Regions from separate parts of the Homo sapiens genome. Here regions 2, 3, 4, 5 and 6 are each linked to region 1. Evidence: promoter capture Hi-C in 16 types of primary human blood cells and fetal thymus (Javierre and others, 2016). All regions are on one chromosome and are shown on one strand. The core of a region is centred on a gene start or on the middle of the fragment in contact, and the rest is flanking DNA. Distances in the headings are between cores, read along the strand shown. Region 1 holds the start of ST6GALNAC3 (ST6 N-acetylgalactosaminide alpha-2,6-sialyltransferase 3). Region 2 overlaps AK5 (adenylate kinase 5). Region 3 overlaps LOC105378808 (a long non-coding RNA gene). Region 4 overlaps PIGK (phosphatidylinositol glycan anchor biosynthesis class K). Region 5 overlaps PIGK (phosphatidylinositol glycan anchor biosynthesis class K). Region 6 overlaps PIGK (phosphatidylinositol glycan anchor biosynthesis class K).

Region 1 (3,410 bases), core at 333-2,832:
TCCAATTTGGCTAAGGCCCTTTCCATGTTATAGTATCATGTATCTCTTATTCTTGTCTTTCTCACTTAACTGTGAGCCCACCTTGATGTTAGATATTCTGAAAGTCATTCTCCTATCCCTGAAAGGTCTTCAATAAAGATTTTTCCTCCACTTAGTGGAAGGTGAATAAAGTTTATTCTTCCATTTAGTAGTGGCTCAATAAAAAAGTTTGTGGAATCAATCAAGGGATGAGTAAATGAATGAAATACTGAATTTTCCTGGCCTATGAAGGACCATGAGCTAAAGCAGCGGTTTAAAGTATATAGTCCCAAACAAAGAATTCTTACTAAAAACACACCGGATCTGTAAGGCAGAGGAGGGAGGGGCGGGAGGAAGAAGTCGAAGAGCAGGGTGTGGTATTCCAGGGAGACTGAAGACAGGAGCTTCCCATGGGACAGGCAGTTCATCCACAGGCTCAGCTTCTGCAACCTCCTTCCTGTGGTTACTCCTGCTCTCTAAGAATTCTGCATGTTCTCATCAAGAAAATACCAAATTCCTTGAAAGCCTGGATTCTGCCTTGTGGTTTGTGAGCCAATCTCATGACACCACCAGCCCACAGTGCTTTTCCTGATTCCATGGAGGCAAACTAGACGGAGCTTCTAGCAAGTGAAACTTCTTTTGGGTAGATATTTGGGGGCCGCTTTTAAAATTTTTCTGACAGACCAAGTGGTAAAAATCTGTGTGTGTACACGGAATGCTCTCTCCCTTCTGCAATGCGTTTACTCTCCTTGTAGAAATAACTGCTTCTCTTAGCCGGCTCTTGCTTGGAGCAGGGAAGAGCAAAGTCCTATCATGTACACATACACAGTTTATAAACATATACTGTACAATCAACATGTACATATATAATACAATATACACATGTGTGCATCCTGTATCTGTATACTGTATATCATGCATATACAATTTCATAAACAAGCTTGTACCAGGAAAAGGCAATAATTTATATATTATACACACATACATGTATATGTAAAATATGTACACACACACAAAATATACCATACAGAGTGTAAGGTTCATGACGTCTTTCTTTCGTTGATATTTGTGCTCACTTATTAGCGGTAAATTATTAATTTTAGATAAGCCCATCACAGAGTGAAGGCTCAATCCTTGAACAGCCCAGGGAGAACTTCGTTGCTACTTTTGAAAAGCCCTTTGATGTGCCCAAAGTCTCCAGAAGGGCGATGCCAAACCCACTCAACTTTGACAAAGTGTGAAACGTCTGTAAAAAGGAGTTCTCTGATGTGTGAGAGGAGACGGAACCGAGAAGAAAAGGCCGTACTCTGCCCCCCGCGGGACCCAGGTCCCCGCCTGCTGCAGAGCGCACTCTGCGCACGTCGAGCCGCGAAAGGTTCACAGAAGAAAACAAGAGAAAGAAGTAGCAGGCACTGAGGAGCCGCCGGCGCCGGCGCCCAGGACGGCACGTGACCCGGGGGCGGGGCCGCGCGGGCCGCGGGCCAGTGGATGGGGACGGGGGCGGGGCCGCGGCTCGGGGGGCGGGGTCTGTGGCGGCGCAGCTTACACCGCGGTCCCCTTATTTGGATCTGCGGGAATGTGGGCTGGAGAGGTCCTGCCGTGGTACCAGCCTCCAGCCTGCCCCCAGGACTGCCCCTGACCCAGGCGCGCCCGCTGCTCGGTGGCAGGAGGGCCGGCGGAGCGCCATGGCCTGCATCCTGAAGGTAACGACTTGGATCTGTGGCTCGGACGCGTGGTTGGCCAGCCCCTTGCTGCTCAGAGGCACGGAGTCAGCCGCGGTCCCACCGCATCCTCATCTCAGTTGTCTTTTCCTGGCATTGATTTTCTTTTTGTTCCTTTGGCAAATGCATATGGAGGGAGATTCTGAAACATGCAGCTGGCACAGCTTCTTTTCCCACCATTCCTGCCTCCTGCTCGCGCCTGCATTGAAGGAGCTGCAGACTGTTGGCTCCAGGGGAGAGCAGGGCTGTGTGCCGAATAATGGGGATGGTAGGGAGAGGAGGGGTGTTCCCGCGGGTCCCGCGGCTCTGTGGAGCCTGAGGCCTTTCAGGGGCCACGGGGAGGGGTGGAGTGGCTAGGCGTGAGTTGCTGGTGGTGAGGGGCATAGCGCTTTAAATGGAGGGAAGAGTGAGCGGAGGTGGGCTCTACTGTGCATTTGATCATGTGAAGACAGAAACTTCTGAGTTTACAGGTAGTCCCTTAGGAATGAGTTTTCTATGAGATCTGCTAGCTCTGTTTGCCCTTAGCTCTACTTTGGAAAAGTTCACACGAGGATGTATATGTTAGTAGAGAACCTCTCACTCTCTTTATGCTCATAAATTTGAATAGACAAAATGATTTTATGCTCTGCCAGAGTGCGCTCAGCCATCCCTTCTTTGTTGAGTTTTCTTTCTCCAAGACCGGATTCTTAGCCTCACCTGAGCATCTTTCTGGGTTCACAGACTTGTGGCCTCAGGTGGGAGAACTTGGTGTGAGGGCCTCACTTAAAAAGAACTTTCCATCCCACTGGTAGAGGCCTCCCCTGCCCTCGTTTTTTTTTTTGCACTACCTTTCTACAAGAACATAACCTGGATGCATGAATCAAAAACATGAACAGCATGAAAGTTTCCTGGGCCTTGACTGGAGAATGCAGAGACCTAGTTGTCCAAGCCTGGGGGAACTGTGTGACGATGGAAAATACCAGGAAACAATTCGTTGTTGTTGTGTTATTGTGAAGTAGCATTTATTTCTCTATAAGATGATATTAAGTCATCTACTGTGTTCTGGTTACCTGAATCGTCTTCTAACGTGCCTGGTGTCAATGATGAAAATAAGAGACTAACCTCGTAGAAGTTGTTTCCCCTTCTTTGCGTAAAGGAGATCAGAAGTTTCCTGTGAGCTTTCTGAACTTCCTCTTTTTGTTTCAGAACATTTTCCAGGACATGAGGAAATAATACATCAGTATTACAGTATGGGGTATTTGACCGGGAGGCTCTTAGCACAAGGACTGAAATATGAATATGAGTCATCTTTACTATTCATTGTGTTATTTGCTGAAAGGGACATTGAGGAGCATGATATTTATTGCTGGCCATCTTTTTCTGTTTTGGTTTCTCCCCTGCCTTGTCCTATACATGTGGTAAACATCTTTAATGCACATCCCAAACTACACATGAATCTGGTCCAATCTTTCTCTTCTAGCACTTCACACTGCTTTCAGACATTTGGGACATATCTGTCCACCTTATCTTCCCTCCACTGAAACTAATGTGGGCTTTAGACTCAGAAAGATATGTCTGGATGCTGGCTCTGCCCACTGCTACCTCTGTGATGTTGGACAAGTTACTTAAATGTCTCTGGGCCTTAGTTTCTTCAATATAAGATCAAAGTAGTGGCACCTGCTTCACAAGGTT
Region 2 (3,410 bases), core at 564-3,063, 1.5 Mb after region 1:
TTGTTCTTTTTGGTGATTGTTTTGGCAATTGAGGGCCTCTTGAGATTCTATATGGTTTTAAAATGATGTTTCTATTCCTGGAAAAAAAAATTAGGATTTTGATAGGGATTACATTAAATCTGTAGATCACTTTGGGTAATATCGACATCTTAGCAATATTAAGCCTTCCATGGATTGTTTTAGATTTTGTTTATTCTAATCTTCTAGCCAACGTCTAGGCTGTGGATAAGTCCCTAGGGATACATTCTAAGTAACTGAGGAACAGGAGTATTTTTCTTACACCACCTTAGAATCAAGGCCTGTGCAGGGCTGGGGGGTTGGAGGGGAAAGGAAGAGGAAGGTGTGGTACAAACGTTGAGAAGCTTCCTGTCTATGAGGATTGGCAGTTGTGTAAACATGACACTAACATACAATTGTAGATGTGTAATAACTGCTGCAGGGTCAACAGTGTTTCAGGCTTTTCCCACTTACCTTGCCCTTGAACTTAAGGTTAGAAGAGCTCTGAGAGACCCTCCAGGAAAGTCAGGACAGGTCCTGCGCATGTTTGGAAGCGATGGGAATAAAAGTCTTTTTTTTTTTTTTTTTTTTTTTTTTTTGAGACGGAGTCTCGCTCTGTCGCCCAGGCTGGAGTGCCGTGGTGCGATCTTGGCTCACTGCAAGCTCTGCCTCCCGGGTTCACGCCATTCTCCTGCCTCAGCCTCCCAAGTAGCTGGGACTACAGGCGCCCGCCACCACACCTGGCTAATTTTTTGTATTTTTAGTAGAGATGGGGTTTCACCGTGTTAGCCAGGATGGTCTTGATCTCCTGACCTCGTGATCTGCCCTCTCAGCCTCCCAAAGTGCTGGGATTACAGGCTTGAGCCACCTCGCCTGGCCAAGTCTTTTTTTTTTTTTAATTGCTCTGAGAGGTGGTAGAACATTCTCTTGAAACCCTCAAATGATCGAGGACAAGATGTATAGTAAATAAATAAGGTCTCTCTCTCTCTCTCGGTCAACAACAACAAAATTAAATTATAATCCTTATTCTTCTTTGGGGAATTTTAAAATTGAGTCTGAAGGCAAACCCCAGAACTTAACGCCTATGGGGTTCCACATCATTTTGAGCAATGACAACCCTGGACCTTCCCAAGGTGGAATCATTAAAAGCATGTCACTCGTGTACTCTGGAGTCAGAAAATCTAGGTTTTCACCTGTCATTTATTATGGAGATAATAATACCTGTTAACACCTATTTAAAAGGTTTTGTAAACATCAGATCATATAACATGCATAAATGTCTTCTAAGCTATAAAAGTTTATAAAATATTATCTAGTTTAGCATCACTCATTTGTTAATCACACCTCATACAAGCCTCTAAAATTCCTGCTCCATCACCACTTCCTCCTTTGCTTAAAACCCAGTTAGGGTGAGCTCAGAGCTCTATGCAGCCCATTGGTCTGTCCTCTGGCGTAAGTATGAATTCAAATGGTCCATGTGATCTTCCCTAAAGTAAAGCAAAAAACTTCCTCTCCCACTGTGGTCCCCGTTCAGACCGGTTTTAGAATGTGGCAGAGAAGAAGCCTAACTAGAACTAAGGAACAAGAAAGTCATCAACATGGTGACTGGACAGTTACACTCAATGCTAAAATTCATGATTCCATTTCAAACAACACACAGGTAACACATTTCATTACTGAGCATACAACCGTTAAGTGAGATTTTAGACATCTACAAAGATGATTTCTTACATACTGCTAGGAGGAACTTACAGAGACCAAGAGTGACATTGATTTGTCCCTGGGTACAGTAACTTTAGAAGATTCTAGTATCAATTAAGCAGGTGTGCAAGAGAACACATCCAGCCCTCCAGAATGAGCTCCTGCTTTAAACCTGACCAGATGGCCGGGCACGGTGGCTCACGCCTGTAATCCCAGCACTTTGGGAGGCCGAGGCGGGCAGATCACCTGAGGTCAGGAGTTTGAGACAAGCCAGACTAACATGGCGAAACCCCGTCTCTACTAAAAATACAAAATTAGCGGGACGTGGTGGCACATGCCTGTAATCCCAGCTACTTGGGAGGCTGAGGCAGGAGAATCGCTTGAACCCAGGAGGCAGAGGTTGCAGTGAGCCAAGATCGCACCACTGCATTCCAGCCTGGGCAACAGAGTGAAACTCCATCTCAAATAATAATAATAATAATAAAACCTGACCAGATGAACAAAGATGCTACAAACACAGAATGAGCTACTGTTGACTCCTTAATGCCCTGCAGGGCCCTTCATTTGTAGCTCCCCTCCAAATTACAAGCAAGAAATTCATTTGAAATTTGACAAAGACAAATGCAGACATCTGATTTTCCCCAGAGATTCAAAGTAATCAGCTTGGTTGAAAGCATAGTATTTCCCCTAGTGCATCAGGCCTGCAACTATGTTTGAGGTCCATTCAAGCCTGGAGAGGTTTTAACCAGCCCACAAAAATCTCACCAGCCTTTCTGTGTCACCGAGATTGATGCGTCCGATGCATTGGACCATCAGTTCCTTTAAAAATTCAGTTAGTTAGGCTGACACTTTTGCATACCTGTAGCTGAGTTCTCCGAGATACAAGGTCCTTTGAGGATTTCCTTGGACACTGCATATGACATCGCTAAAAATCAAATGCAAACTAATGTCCACAGCTTAAGGGTAAGTCTATGTGTGGTTTCTGTTACCTTCCTATCTTCTATTCCCCAAGCTGGTTTTATCCCTGTTGAATTACAACCTATACCTTCAGTTTACAGAATGATTACTGGGGGAGGGGCTGTGTATATGTACATGTATGTAATGCATGTATGCATGTAGATGTGTGTAATGAGGCAGAAGGAATATGAGGGAGGAGTCAGGGTTTCTGATCACCATCCTCATTCCCCACTCCAGCTGAGAACCCCTGGTTATAGTGACTCTGGTGTGAACAGGCCTGTATTTGGAGCCTGGCTTTGTAATTCATTGGCTGGTAAGCAAGTCAGCTAACTTTGTAGATCTCCTTCTCCTCTTCTACAAAATGTTGGTTGGAAATACATACCTCAGTGATTGTTGGGAAGATTGGATGGGATCCTTGACAAGTGCCTTTACACACTTATAAGCCTACATATGGTGTTCAATAAGTCTTTACAGTTTTTTTAATAATGTGTATTTTTTCTGACTATAGAAATAAAAATTATATAGTATGAAACAATACACAAAAATATAAAACAAAGAATAACTAACCACCCAGTGATAATACCTATTAATATTTAATGTATGTTCTCCCCAAGCTTTGTTCTGCCTGTTTTTGCTTAGTTAAAATCATACAGAACATAGGAATAGTAATTATTTTTTGAGTACTTACAATGCGCCAGAAACTGAACTTGATGCTTTACACATTTCATTTGATTAATTTTTACAGTCCTACTTAA
Region 3 (3,410 bases), core at 512-3,011, 1.1 Mb after region 1:
AATACACTGCCAGAATATCTTCCATGTATTCATTAATTCAACAGATATCTATTGGATGCTGATGATTATGAAACAAAGTAGCAAAGATAAGAAGCCATTTGCTCATTCTGCTCCTTTGCCAGCAATATTTCACAAAGCCCCTGACTCATTGACTGTGAGCAGCCTTGTGGAAGAATGCCTTGAAGACCATAAGCAGGATAGGGAATAGGTTTGCACATCTCTTGCCTGAATCACTGAATTTTTACAAAAGGTAAGTTTGGTGATCCTAGCCCTTGCCTCTTCCTGTACATAAGATAATGTCTGACAAGATTAATGATTATGCCTCAAATTCATGACCAGATGTAACTTCATACCCACACTTTGATGAGACTTTACTTGTATTAACCCATTTTCATACTGCTATGAAGAAATACCCAAGACTGCATAATTTCTAAAGAAAAAGGCTTAGTGGACTCACAGTTCCACATGGCTGGGGAAGCCTCACAATCATGGTAGAAGATGAAGAAGGAGCAAAGGCACATCTTACATGGCAGCAGGTGAGAGAGCATGTGCAGAGGAACTACCCTTTATAAAACCATCAGAGGCCAGGTGCAGTGGCTCACACCTGTAATCCTAGCACTTTGGGAGGCCGAGGCAGGCAGATCATCTGAGGTCAGGCATTCAAGACCAGCCTGGCCAACATGGCAAAACCCCATGTTTCAAAATTAGCTCAGTGTGGGGGCACATGCCTGTAATACCAGCTACTAGGGAGGCTGAGGCAGGAGAATCGCTTGAACCTGGGAGGCAGAGGTTGCAGTGAGCCAAGATCACGCTACTGTACTCCAGCCTGGGCAACAGAGCCAGACTTTGTCTCAAAAAATAAAATGAAATAAAATAAAAATAAATAAATAGATAGATAAATAAAACCATCAGAGCTCGTGAGAACTCACTACCATGACAACATGAGGGTAACTGATCCCATAATTAAATTACTTCCCATCAGGTCCCTCCCTTGACACTTGGGGATTATGGGAGCTACAATTCAAGATGAGATTTGGGTTGGGACACAGCCAAACCATATCATTCCACCCTGGCCCCTCCAAAATCTCCTGTCCTCACATTTCAAAAGCAATCATGCCTTACCAGCAGTCCCCCAAAGTCTTAACTCATTTCAGCATTAACTCAAAAGTCTACAGTCCAAAGTCTCATCTGAGACAAGGCAAGTCCCTTCTGCCTATGAGCTTGTAAAATCATAAGCAAGTTAAGTTACTTCCTAAATACAATGGGGGTACAAGCATTGGGTAAATACACCCATTCCAAATGGGAGAAATAGGCCAAAATGAAGGGACTACAGGGCCCATGCAAGTCCAAAATCCAGCAGGGCAGTCAAATCTTAAAGCTCCAAAATGATCTGCTTTGACTCCGTGTCTCACATCCAGTTCACGTTGATACAAGAGGTAGGTTGCCATGGTCTTGGGCAGCTCTGCCCCTGTGGCTTTGCAAGATACAGCCTCCTTCCCAGCTGCTTTAACAGGCTGGCATTGAGTGTCTCTGGCTTTCCCAGGCATATGCTGCAAGCTGTTGGTGGATCTACCATCCTGGGGTCTGGAGGATGGTGGCCCTCTTCTCACAGCTCCACTAGGCACTGCCCCAGTGGGGACTCTGTGTGGGGGATCCCACCCCACATTTCCCTTCTGCATTGCCCTTCTGCCTTAGCAGAGGTCGTGCATGAGGGCCCTGCCCCTGCAGCACACCTCTGCCTGAACATCCGGGTGTTTCCATACATCCTCTGAAATCTAGGCAGGGTTCCCAAACCTCAATTCTTGACTTCCGTGCACCCACAGTCCCAATATCACATGTGAGCAGCCTGAGACTGCACAAAGCAGCAAGGCCCTGGGCCCAGCCCATAAACCCATTTTTCCTCCTTGGCCTCCTGGCTTGTGATGAGAGGGACTTCCAGGAAGACCTCTTACATGCCCTGGAGACATTTTTCCCATTGTCGTGGTAATTAACATGTGGCTTCTTGTTACTTATGCAAATTTCTGCAGCAGGCTTGAATTTCTCCGCAAAAAATGGGTTTTTCTTTTCTATCACGTCATCAGGCTGCAAGTTTTCCTTTTATGCTCTGCTTCCTCTTGAACGCTTTGCCACTTAGAAATTTCTTCCCTCAGGTACCCTAAATCATCTCTCTAAAGTTCAAAGTTCCACAGATAACTAGGGCAGGGGCAAAATGCCACCAGTCTCTTTGCTAAAGCATAGCAAGAGTGACCTTTATTCCATTTCCCAACAAGTTCCTCATCTCCATCTGAGACCACCTCAGCCTGGACTTCTTTGTCCGTATCCCTATTAGCCTTCTGATCAAAGCCATTCAACAAGTCTCTAGGAAGTTCCAAACTTTCCTACATCTTTCTGTCTTCTGAGCCCTCCAAGTCTCTAGGAAGTTCCAGAGTTTCCCACATTTTCCTGTCTTCTTCTGAGCCCTCCAAACTGTTCCAACCTCTGCCTGTTACCCTGTTCCAAAGTTGCTTCAACATTTTCTGTTAACCTTATAGCAGAGCCCCACTACCTCAGTTCCAATTTACTGTATTAGTCCATTTTCATACTACTGTGAAGAAATAGCCAAGACTGGGTAATTTATAAAGAAAAAGAGGTTCAGTGGACTCACAGTTCCACATGGCTGGGGAGGCCTCACAATCGTGACAGAAGGCAAAGGAGGAGCAAAGACACATCTTACCTGGCAGCAAGGCAAGAGAGAGAGCATGTGCGGAGGAACTGCCCTTTATGAAACCATCAGATTTCCTGAGATTTATTCACTATCATGAGACCAGCAGGGGAAAAACTTGCCCCCATGATTAAATTACTTCCCACCGGGTCCTACCATTGACACATGGGGATTATGGGAGCTACAATTCAAGATGAGATTTGAGTGGGGACACAGCCAAACCATGTCATTAATGTAATTTCTGAGCACATTTGATGTAACTTCTTAACACATGCAGAGCAACCACCACCTATGTTTAAGCTATGGGGTGAATCAATGCTTTGCAGCAATATAACAAACTCTTTGAAAGATTCTCCCAGGTTGCAGTACTCAGTAGGACTTCTGAATAAAATTAACTTTAATTATTTAAAAGCCTGTTTTTTTTTCTTTAGTTGACATAACATACCAGGATATTGTAGCTGGAAATACATAGGAGGTTCTTGCTCTCACGAACCTTACATTCCAGTAAGGAAAACAGACAATAAGAAAAAAGAAAAATGAATACAATAAATTCTCATGGTGATACAAATAAGGTAAGATGACAGAAACTGAAGGGAGAGGGAGACACTACTTCAGTGAGGTGGTCAGTGAAAACCTCTCTGCAAAGGTGGTGTGAAATCTGAGACCTGAATGACAAGAAAGAACTAGCGATGCAAACATCTGCGGGTGG
Region 4 (3,410 bases), core at 534-3,033, 1.1 Mb after region 1:
GCAGACTGGTTGTCTGCTCTCAAACCCTGCCTCCTGATAAGATGTTATCAATGATAATGCGTGCCCAGTGGGACATGAAACTTCATCAGCAATTCTAATTTCACCCTGGTCCTGTGATCTCACTCTGCCCCCATTTGCCATGTGATATTTTATTGCCCTTGAAGCATGTGATCTCTGTGACCCACACCCTATTCGTACACCCCTTCCCTTTTGAAATCCATAATAAAAACTTGCTGGTTTTGCGGCTCAGGGGGAATCATAGAACCTGCCGACATGTGATGTCTCCCCTGGACATCCAGCTTTAAAATTTCTCCCTTTTGTACTCTTTCCCTTTATTTCTCAGACCGGCCGACACTTAGGAAAAATAGAAAAGAACCTACGTTGAAATATCAGGGGCTGATTCCCCTGATATTCTAACACTAGACTAACAAAATTTAGGGGATATAAATATTTTACTTTTAAAATACAAACTGTGTTTGCTTTGCACAACTGATAAAATATTTCCAAATCATACATTTATTTATTTACCCAATACTAGCTGAGCAGAATCTTTTCTATTGATTTCTATTTATTAAATAACAAATGGCTTAAATCACCAACTGTTTAAATCCTTAATTACCCCACTACAAAGACTTCATAAACACAGTTATAGATAAGCAATTATTTGAAACAGAAATAAGCTTTTAAATAACATTCTTCAGAAACCTAAGGACAAACCTACTAAACATAATATACAAAATACATCCTATTGCTATTGTCTATTCCTAAAAACTCCTTCCAAATCTAACTTAAATCATTTAAATATATCTTAATGATTGACTCATAGAAGAAAGATTAATTTACCAAAGAAAAACTATTGCCAAGCCATGCATAGTGATTCTCTAGAAGAGTATATCCAGTATAGACGCAAGAGCCGTTAAAGACCAAAAGCTAACTACATAGGCCTATTTGAGAAAAACCAATTGACAAATGACAAGAATTATATCTATACACTTGATATAACAAATCAACCTCCTTCTCAGACTTAATGTAATTTTAAAATAGTAATATTATCTAGTTGCCATGATTTCCAGATGAAATATGGAAATTATAGTTTTGTCAGTTACTCAGACTGAAATGATCTATTCACAAAGACTGTAATATAACTTTGTTTCCTCAGTCATTCACTGCTTCCTTTCTGTTCCTGCAGCACTTTATGCATAACTCTTATTTGTTTTTACTGGAAGTACTTGAATCCTGAAAGAAGGTACTATTATTACCATGTAACAAATGAGAAACAAGCTTATTATGGTAAAGTGACTTAAAGAAAAATCACCATTAAAGCCAGATTTCAAAGTCATATCTAACTACAAGGCTCTTTCCACACTGACTCACTGGTACTAAATAAATCAAACCTAAATAACTGAATTGACTACAGTTTCTTGCTATAGCTGCTTTGGTAGTAGGAAAAACAAATCTATCATGGACAAAACAATGTAGAAGACATGCTCTGAGTGAAGGTGTGGGGATACCGCCTATTACCTAAACTCACTCCCTACAAGTAGGAAAATTCCCACTTTACGAGTCTTCATATAAAGCAAAGCCCACCTTCCTATATAGAGGCTAATAATGCCATATACTAGCTCTTCCAGTCACCCTGCAGCACAGACATGGGTGCTGAACCTAGACTTTACCAATATAACATTCCCACCAAGACCTCTATAAGAGAGACAGTAAGAAGTTGGGACAGCAAAGTTCAAATTTTGGCAGCAGGAGGCAATAGCAACATTAAGTTTCAAAAGGAAACAAACAGTAGCAGCTATGCAGTAGCTGAGTCTAGGCTTCAGCAATTTGCAGCTCCATTATTGTCACCAGACTGTTTTAGGTCATTTTTTTGCTATGTCTCTTCTAATATCTAGGCTTCCTTGTTCCTGGCTATTAAAGGATACAACCTTCTCACTAATTTGGCAAGGTAATCAATATGCTTTCAATAAATCCCTTTTCCACTTGAATCAATCAGAATTGCACTCCATTATCTGCAATTAAAAACCCTGACTGAGCCATTTACTAATTAAATACATTACACTAAATAATTATATTTTATCCAATCTTTTTACCTTAGCATTTGTTCTTTTATATAATTTGTCATTATGGTCTTAAGTAACATCTAATTTATACATGGTAGTATGCTCTAATGAGAACAAAAAATCTTCAAATCAGATTTTTTTTTTTACCTTTTTCAAAAGTAACACAAAATACAAATATAATAACAATTATCTAAGGGTTATTTTCACTGAAGTTCAAGGTTAAGCTTTATTAAGGCTTCTTACCTGTCAGGAATACCTAGCCTCTTGACACTTCTATAAACAGAAAGGGTATTTGCAACATGTCGATAATTAAACCAGAATCGGGATGTACACACCTGAAGTATTAAAACAAAAACAGAATTTTTATGCATCAAGGCTAACCATGGAGCTGCAGAGTATTTTTCTTTAAGTAGGATACAGAGATCTCTAAGAAACAGTATGCCATAATTCAGGCTTTAAAACAGCAAACACAAAAAATTGTCAGTAAAGGCCAGGCACAGTGGCTCATGCCTGTAATACCAACACTTTGGGAAGCCCAGGCGGGAAGATCACTTGGGTCCAGGAGTTCGAGACCAGCCTGGCCAACATGGCAAAACCCCACCTCTACTAAAAATACAAAAATTACCCAGGTGTGGTGGCGTGCACCTGTAGTTGCAGCTACTTGGGAGGCTGAGGCATGAGAATCGCTTAAACCTGGGAGGTGGAGGTTGCAGGGAGTGGAGATGGCACCACTGCACTCCAGCCTTGTCGACAGAGCAAGACTCTGTCTCAACAAAAAAAGAATTGTCAGTAAAACTAATCGCTCCAAAGAGAAGTCTTTCATAACTAGTATTAGATTTTAAAAAACCATTCAGCTTAAGAGAAAGCATATCTTTGGGAAATTAAATCAAATACTGAACCAACTTAGTTATCACAATTTCTGTGACTCAGTAACATTCCTATTTCTAAAAAATTAAATTCTTTAGAATCAAAGACAATGCCCATAATTTCTTCACAGAATAGAGAAGAAAATTAGCTACATAGGGTTATACAATATTTGTTTCATTCCACATTGCTTCCTTTATTGTGAGAAACGTAGGACACAGGATAAAACATAACATATAAAACAGTTGTAAATGTACATAAGAGAGTGCATTATAAAGAAGCTATTGAACTCAAGAGAAAATTAGAAACAATCCAACCAAGTTTTATAGTTTAAAAAAATTCCTGAGAATTATATTAAAGGTGCTAGGAAAATCTAATTCCATGCCTCAAAAGTTAGTGTTGTTCAGAACCCATTCTAAGGTAGGTAAATATAGATTGGGGTCACTTGGTAATATATCTACCAAGTACAATCCCGGCTTC
Region 5 (3,410 bases), core at 598-3,097, 1.1 Mb after region 1:
TTCTGTCTTGCTTTGGGTTACTATCAATCTAGTATCACTTCAACTGAATTGCTCAACTTTAAATTTCTTGGGCCAAGAAGGTTAACCATGTTAAATCACATGAGAGTATGACTGATTACATATTCCCAGGGAAGCCTCTTTTACCCCCATATCTCTAGCCAAGGCAAGAGAAACGTCCTCATTTTCTTCCCCTCAGGCTGTTAGATTTTATTCCAGCCCACTCTCTGATTGAGGGTAAAGCCTTAGAAGTTAATGGTTTTATGTAGAGGTCTTAAGCTCAACTGTCAACAAATGGATCCACAGTCTTTTCTCCTAACCCTCACACAAAGCCATTCTAACTCAAAACTCTAGGTTTCTATATTAGTACATGTTAGGCCGTCCTGCCTTCCACATTCATTCGGCACTTGAGTTTTAGCGTCTATGTGTTTTTTCCCAAGAGATTTCCCTACTGTTGAGCAAAGTGGAGCTTCCTCTGTTGCAAGCCACTGTTCAGCAATAGGCTCCTGCGAATACTTTCTGCTACTAGATAAAAAGACCAATAGCAGGATAAGTCACACAGTCCCCTGTAAAGGTTTCTTTAGATGAAGGTGCAGCTGGAAACACCATGGGTTGGATCAAGGAGGAAATTACAACCCTAAATCACATGAGAGCCCTAAAGCAAGAAAGGGCTCCCATAGACACTCCCGCTTTTTAAAGTAAATCTATACTGTCCTTGCAAAAGGAGACAGTCTGAGCTTGCTGCCAACTGCTCAGGGAAGCTGCATGTTTAGAACACCAGCTGTTACTATCTAGAAACACTGTAGGAAGTAGAACCCATGTAGTCCTTACCACTGAATGAGGGGGTGCCACCAGCTCTGCTTCAATGTGGAAGAAGCCAGCAATGCTATTCATCAAATGTTGTTTGTCTCTACACACTTACTTTCTTGGCAGCTCAGCTAAGCATTTAAAAAGATCTTTTTAAAATATAATTTATAGTGCATCTAGGTATCTTGTAACGGAATAATTTTCAGAAAAATCCTGTCAGCAACATTACAAAAGTGAAGTCAATTGATTATTCTTTATTATTAACTTCAAACCATCCCTCTAAACTCATTTACATTAATTTTTTGTTCCGAGAAAGTGAAATGTTGTATCTCATTCTAATATTACAGGGTGTTCTTTTATTGAGAAATGTTTCCTTCTAATGAAATGTGAAACTATGAATGCCAAAGGCTACTGAATTCAAGCTGTATTTTTATATCTGATATAGTTTAGATATTTGTCCCTGCTCAAATATCAGGTTGAACTGTAATCCCCAATGCTGGAGGTGGTGCCTGATGGAAGGTGTTTGGGTCATGAGGGCAGATCCCTCATGGCTTGGTGCTGTCTTCACCATAGTGAGTGAGTTCCCGCAAGATATGGTCGTTTAAAAGTGTGTGGCACCTCCCCAGTGCATGCTCACACTCACTCACTCTTTCTCTCTTGCACTCTCTCCCAAACCCTTGCCTTCCTCCCTCCCTCTCTCTCTTGCTCTCACTCTCTTACTCTCCCCCAACCCCCCTGCCCCGCTCACTTACACTTGCTCCGGTTCTCATTCCTATTCTCACCATATGATGTGCCTGTTCCCCATTTGCCCTCTACCATAATTGGAAGCTTCCTGACGCCTCCCCAAAAGTAGATACCCCTATGCTTCCTGTACAGACTGCAGAACAATAAGCCAATTACCCAGTCTCAGGTATTTCTTTATAGCAGTGCAAGAACAACCTAATACAACATCTAAGGTAAAAGTGGGTTTTTTCATATTTAGTGTTAACTCATGGGAACGTCATGTACTCTTTTATTACCAGAAGTTACCTAATTTCTGGATATTCAAGGTTTTACTATATCTAACTTTCAAAGAAATAGCAGAAAAACAAAACAAAAAAAACCACTACATTTGACACTAAAACCATACAAGATTAATTTTAATCATTTTCTATGATTTAGAAGATACGTATCAGTGTTTTTACATGCAAAAGAGAAATCATTGTGAATATCACTTATTTTTTAAAGCATAAGTTAGAGCTTTCCCTTTAGTTAGATATAAGCTTTTAAAATACCTTGCTTATGCATAGCAATTACAGTAGTTACAACTGTATGTCACACTGTATAGTTCCTTATCACCTGTTTCAGTACCTTAAAGGAAAAGTACCAAAGATTGCTATAAAGCATGCAATCTTTAAATCACCTAAGAGAAATATAAAATACTATTTTCTTGCTCCATCTCTCAATATACATGCTCTAAATATACACATCTTTGCTATAAAGAAATAAACATTATAAAAATTAGATATATTAATTTTAATAAAACCCAGTTTAAACTGCTTACCAAGTATCTCTGAATCTCTGGCTGGCAATATAGTTCAGGCCAAGCAAACTAAGTCCATTACTACTTGCAGTGTAGTACAATATAATTCTCAGCCAGCACACTTAGTTATCATGTGACATAGGTATTCTGAGATCATATCCTAAGAACTCTTATATTTCATTATTTTGTCTGCTCTTTACTTCTTGGGAAATCATACTAGAACATATTAATATTAGAAGCTGATGCCATCAGATAAGGAACAGAGAACGGCTCTTAATATTGAAGTTAAAATGAAGGAACTGAAAAAGGCATTCCATACAATATAAGCTGCACGCTTCCCTTAGTAAAAGTACTTTCAGAATAATAAGTCACAATTTCATCAAATTAAAGAAAGTACCAAGCCTGGAATATCTTTGAGTATAACAAGAACTTTGTATATAATGAATGAATTTAAAGCAGAGAAAGATGGAGCATAATACAGCTCGTCAATGTTGGTAAGTCCCCTGATTTTCCTTTATTTTTATGAGAAAAATAATTTCAAAATGAAAATCTTTAATTACTTGATAGTAATTTATCTATAACATCTGTAGAAAAACATACTTTAAACAATATTTACTATATTAATTTAATAAAAGCTCACAAAAATAACCTTACTTTGACTTTTTAGGTCCACTTTGGCATTATTCAAAAAATTTTTATTATTAAATTTTGATTTTTTTGATTAAGCCCTGAGAAATCAGCTTTCTAACAAATAAAAGTTAACAGCTGTGACCCAAAATTGGTATCCAACATCAAGGATATCATGAGCAAAGATCACAGATCCGTATCATTTACCAGGTCCATTTTTCCCCCACAATAAAAGCCATAAATAGTTCAATACTAATATGGCAATGTCAGAATGAGTATTAAAAAAGACTAATAGGCTATAATACTGAATTAACACTAGTAAGATAAAAACATAAAGAAATAGGCATAAATCCTGAAATTGAGTTGTTTTTTGTTTTGTTTTGTTTTGTTTTTTAAGTCAGCTACACTGGTAAGTATGGGAAAGTCAGGCTAATAATAATTCCTGTCAGAATGGGCT
Region 6 (3,410 bases), core at 534-3,033, 1.0 Mb after region 1:
TCTTCTACATAAATCATGTGGTCATTTTTTCCTAACATTAAAAAAGAAAAACTTGTTTCTACTCTAATTAGAATTGCTAAATTGGGAGAATTTACACTTATACTTTCATCATGTTGTTTATTTGGTATGTCTTTCTGTTTCTGAAACATAGTACTTTCCATGATTCTTATTATACAGGTCTATGGTTTACTTGTTAAATCTAATTGTAATTATTTTATAGTTCTCTTCACTGCTGTGACAGAAAAATTTTCCCATTTTCATTTCTGTGTGTTTACTGCAAATGCAGAGAAGCTATCAATTTTATTTAAGAAGCCAATTTTATTTGGCTATCTCATCACATTCTCTTATTAATTTTATTGTTCATAACTTGAGTCTCCTGGGTTTCCTAGGTATACAGTCATATTTTCTAGGATGGCTAGAAAAATGGTAAATAATTTGACAGCATAAAATGGTAGTAGTGAGAATCCTATCTCCTGATTGTAAAAAGCAGTTTAAATATCACACACAATAAATGAATTACTGAAATGACTGATGCTCATTCCTCTCTCTTCTGTTTCTCAAGTTTCTCCTTCTGTTTCAGCCTCTGTCCCTGCTTTGAAAGCCTCCATCTCTCCTGCAGCTTCTAAGTTGTGCTACTAGTGAGAGTCCTTGGCTTCTGGTGCCTGGGTAGTAGGGAAAAGAGGTGGTCCTGGCTTTCAACATACCATTAAAAATACGTTATCTATCCATTTATCTATACGTTATCTATCCATTTAGAGATATGTATACATAGTACAAAGCAAGATGCTAAAAGAAATATCAAGAAACTGAGACTGTCCAGAAAGATGATAAAATAGGATATATAAGACATAAAAATAAGTAACTCTATTTTAAATAGAAATGACATGAGCTCCTAAACAGGTGTAGGTAAAGTATAAGATTATTTCTCATGAAAATAGTTACAGGGGGAGATTATACACTACAATAATGCTATAATTTAGATATAGATCAAAAAGCTTTTGTGAAACTAGCTAACCTAATTATCACATGTATTACTGTTCTCTTAGGAAAAAAGTTGCATGCATTCATTTATTTATCAAGACAGGGTCTCACTCTGTCACCCAGACTGGAGTGCAGTGCCACAATCTCAGCTCACTGTAGCCTCAATCTGGATCCCAGGCCCAGGAGATAGTCCCACCTCAGCCTCCCGAGTAGGTGGGACTACAGGCACGCACCACTAAGCCCAGCTAATTTTCTGTATTACTTGTAGACATAGGGTTTTGTTATGTTGCCCGGGCTGGTCCTGAACTCCTGGGCTCAAGTGATCCATCCACCTCAGCCTCCCAAAGGGCTGGGATTATAGGCATGGGATACCACGTGCCCGGCCAAAATTTGCTTTTAAATAACGGACTTATCAGTTAATTTCTGGCAACGTAACTCTTATGTTTCTAAAAGACCAGTTGGACCGGCTAATGGTAACAGTCCTTAAGTTGTAGTACTGTCAAAAAAGGGAAATAACAAAAGGAATAAATGAAGAGTCTGCTATTAACAATGACCTGTCCTGACTATTCTTTAACTGAGAACAGAATTCATTTTATTCAATAAAAATAAAATACATAAATTCCTATTGTGTAAAATTTCTTAAAGATAGGTATTTAGTAAAATCAAGTGCTACTGAATTTTAATATAATGTTTGTAATTCAGTGTTAAAATTAACAAAGTCTCTTGTACTGCCAAAAAAATCACAATCTAAAATTTTCACCAGGGTCAAAAATTTTTTATCTTGGAATTCACACAGTGTATAACAGTCAAATGCAGCTGTTACATAAACCAGGTAGTTTATTGGTTCATCCATGCTATAAAAATATTACTGACATTTCATCTGGTCAACCATCTTAAAGGTTAATTCTTGTTTCCTCTTTCAGATTTTATTCTAGGTGAACTGTTCTGGGCAGATTCTATTTACCAATTCTGAGCAAACCACAAACTGTTTCATCGCTCACTCTTACTGTTAAGAACATATTGACTTGCTGCCTGCTCTGCTGTTTAATTCATTTATGCTGAGAGTCAGGCATGAAGACAGAATTTTAAATGTGACATTCGCAGACTGTTAGGTCATTTAAGCTCTGACAACACTAGGGAATTCCTGACATATAAACTGGACCTGATTACCAAGCACAGACGAGCTTCCCAAAGGTGTAAATTTCTGATCATTTTTTGTAATTTCTCACAGAATTGCAATATTAAATTTTAATGTCAATGAAAAATATATATAGCCAACATTTTAAAGTAAAAGCCTCTGTTTCTTTTAATAAAGTTCTAACTGGCACTTCTAATCAATACATATCAGCTAAATAAAAATTATTTTGATGGAAAAAGGCATATGGAAAAACTCACAATAACAATCAACATTCATAACAATTCTGAGAAACTCTGCCATTTAAGGGCTTTAAATATTTACTATAATATGTAAGTTTCTGAAATCTCTGCTAGGTCTAAAGGCTATAACTCTAGTCAACAGAACATTTAAAATTATTAGATTCTGGCACAGCAGGGCAGAGGTTATATGCTGTCAAATTATAGTACAAAGTCTAAGCTTACATGCTTACAACACTGCCTTCTCAATGATTACAGTTATGTAGAACGGATGATAAAATCATTATAATTGGAAATGAACAAATTGCCCACATGACATGCAGAATTATACTTTGCAAGGGTTGATGATTGGGCAGGGTAAAGGATGCAGGGCAAGATTGTTTTCTCTTTTTAGTGACTCCAAAAAATTACTCTCAATGATATTTTTGCAGCTCTTTTTCCTTGTCACTAAGTACTATACACAATGGGTCAAAATGAAAGTTTTCTGAAATTAAATTTTATAATTAAATAATGCACAAAAGATAATCCTTATTTTATCCCATATTTTATGTAAGTAAGAATTCTAGTGTTAAACAGCAAGTAGCCTTTTAATATTGTGCTTTGAATGGGACTTTCAACTGTAATAGGGGTAGTCTAAATAGGGATAGACAGCCCAGAATGCCTTTCAGCTATAGCACATTGATTCTGAAAAACCTAACAAAAGCAATTACTTCTCAGCGATTAAAAATCTTGTTTCTTTCAAAAGAATAAAATGAAATGCAAACCTGGTGTATTATCTGAGCTACAGGAAGTTGTTCAGCATATTTCAGAGGTTCCATTAGTTTCTCATCCATCTGGTCTTCCTTATAGCTGGAAAAGATAATTTAAAAACACAGAGCTAAGGCAAATACTATTTTGAAATATAGCAAATATTTAAATATGTCAAATATGAAATATAGTAAAATGCATAGATTTTTTTTGAAATAATCAGTATTTATCAATAATCTTTGAAACACTACCATTGAAAAATTTTAAATGACTATAGAAGTATTCAGACTACATTAAGTAACTATGCA

The links. Contacts are between HindIII fragments. The CHiCAGO score rates a contact against its expected background, and 5 or more counts as called.
Region 2: a contact is called between a fragment that was not itself captured here and the fragment with the promoter of ST6GALNAC3 in region 1, in 1 of 17 cell types (M0 macrophages). The highest score is 7.7, in M0 macrophages.
Region 3: a fragment that was not itself captured here is called in contact with the fragment with the promoter of ST6GALNAC3 in region 1 in 3 of 17 cell types (fetal thymus, monocytes and M1 macrophages); the score reaches 10.5 in fetal thymus.
Region 4: a fragment that was not itself captured here is called in contact with the fragment with the promoter of ST6GALNAC3 in region 1 in 2 of 17 cell types (fetal thymus and monocytes); the score reaches 7.6 in fetal thymus.
Region 5: a fragment that was not itself captured here is called in contact with the fragment with the promoter of ST6GALNAC3 in region 1 in 11 of 17 cell types (monocytes, total CD4 T cells, megakaryocytes and 8 more); the score reaches 12.9 in monocytes.
Region 6: a fragment that was not itself captured here is called in contact with the fragment with the promoter of ST6GALNAC3 in region 1 in 4 of 17 cell types (M2 macrophages, M0 macrophages, naive CD4 T cells and 1 more); the score reaches 9.8 in M2 macrophages.

Annotation. Positions count from the first base shown.
Region 1 is chr1:76,073,164-76,076,573 of GRCh38, forward strand. ST6GALNAC3 (ST6 N-acetylgalactosaminide alpha-2,6-sialyltransferase 3) reads left to right here and starts at 1,583. Exons shown (of 5, transcript NM_152996.4): 1 at 1,583-1,721. The coding sequence starts at 1,704. RefSeq lists a silencer at 1,384-1,583. The HindIII fragment of the contact is 5,160 bases long and covers 957-3,410 here.
Region 2 is chr1:77,525,898-77,529,307 of GRCh38, forward strand. All of the region lies in intron 12 of AK5 (adenylate kinase 5), which reads left to right. Among named protein-coding and RNA genes, the nearest start is that of ZZZ3, 160 kb to the right of the region's middle. The HindIII fragment of the contact is 2,907 bases long and covers 361-3,267 here.
Region 3 is chr1:77,220,744-77,224,153 of GRCh38, forward strand. LOC105378808 (a long non-coding RNA gene) reads left to right here. Exons shown (of 3, transcript XR_001738109.2): 2 at 45-250. Among named protein-coding and RNA genes, the nearest start is that of PIGK, 3.0 kb to the left of the region's middle. The HindIII fragment of the contact is 4,293 bases long and covers 1-3,410 here.
Region 4 is chr1:77,204,331-77,207,740 of GRCh38, forward strand. PIGK (phosphatidylinositol glycan anchor biosynthesis class K) reads right to left here. Exons shown (of 11, transcript NM_005482.3): 3 at 2,310-2,401. Among named protein-coding and RNA genes, the nearest start is that of PIGK, 13 kb to the right of the region's middle. The HindIII fragment of the contact is 1,009 bases long and covers 1,280-2,288 here.
Region 5 is chr1:77,138,804-77,142,213 of GRCh38, forward strand. The region is part of intron 9 of PIGK (phosphatidylinositol glycan anchor biosynthesis class K); the gene reads right to left. Among named protein-coding and RNA genes, the nearest start is that of PIGK, 79 kb to the right of the region's middle. The HindIII fragment of the contact is 434 bases long and covers 1,631-2,064 here.
Region 6 is chr1:77,119,156-77,122,565 of GRCh38, forward strand. It overlaps PIGK (phosphatidylinositol glycan anchor biosynthesis class K), which reads right to left. Exons shown (of 11, transcript NM_005482.3): 10 at 3,120-3,204. Among named protein-coding and RNA genes, the nearest start is that of MIR7156, 61 kb to the left of the region's middle. The HindIII fragment of the contact is 1,580 bases long and covers 994-2,573 here.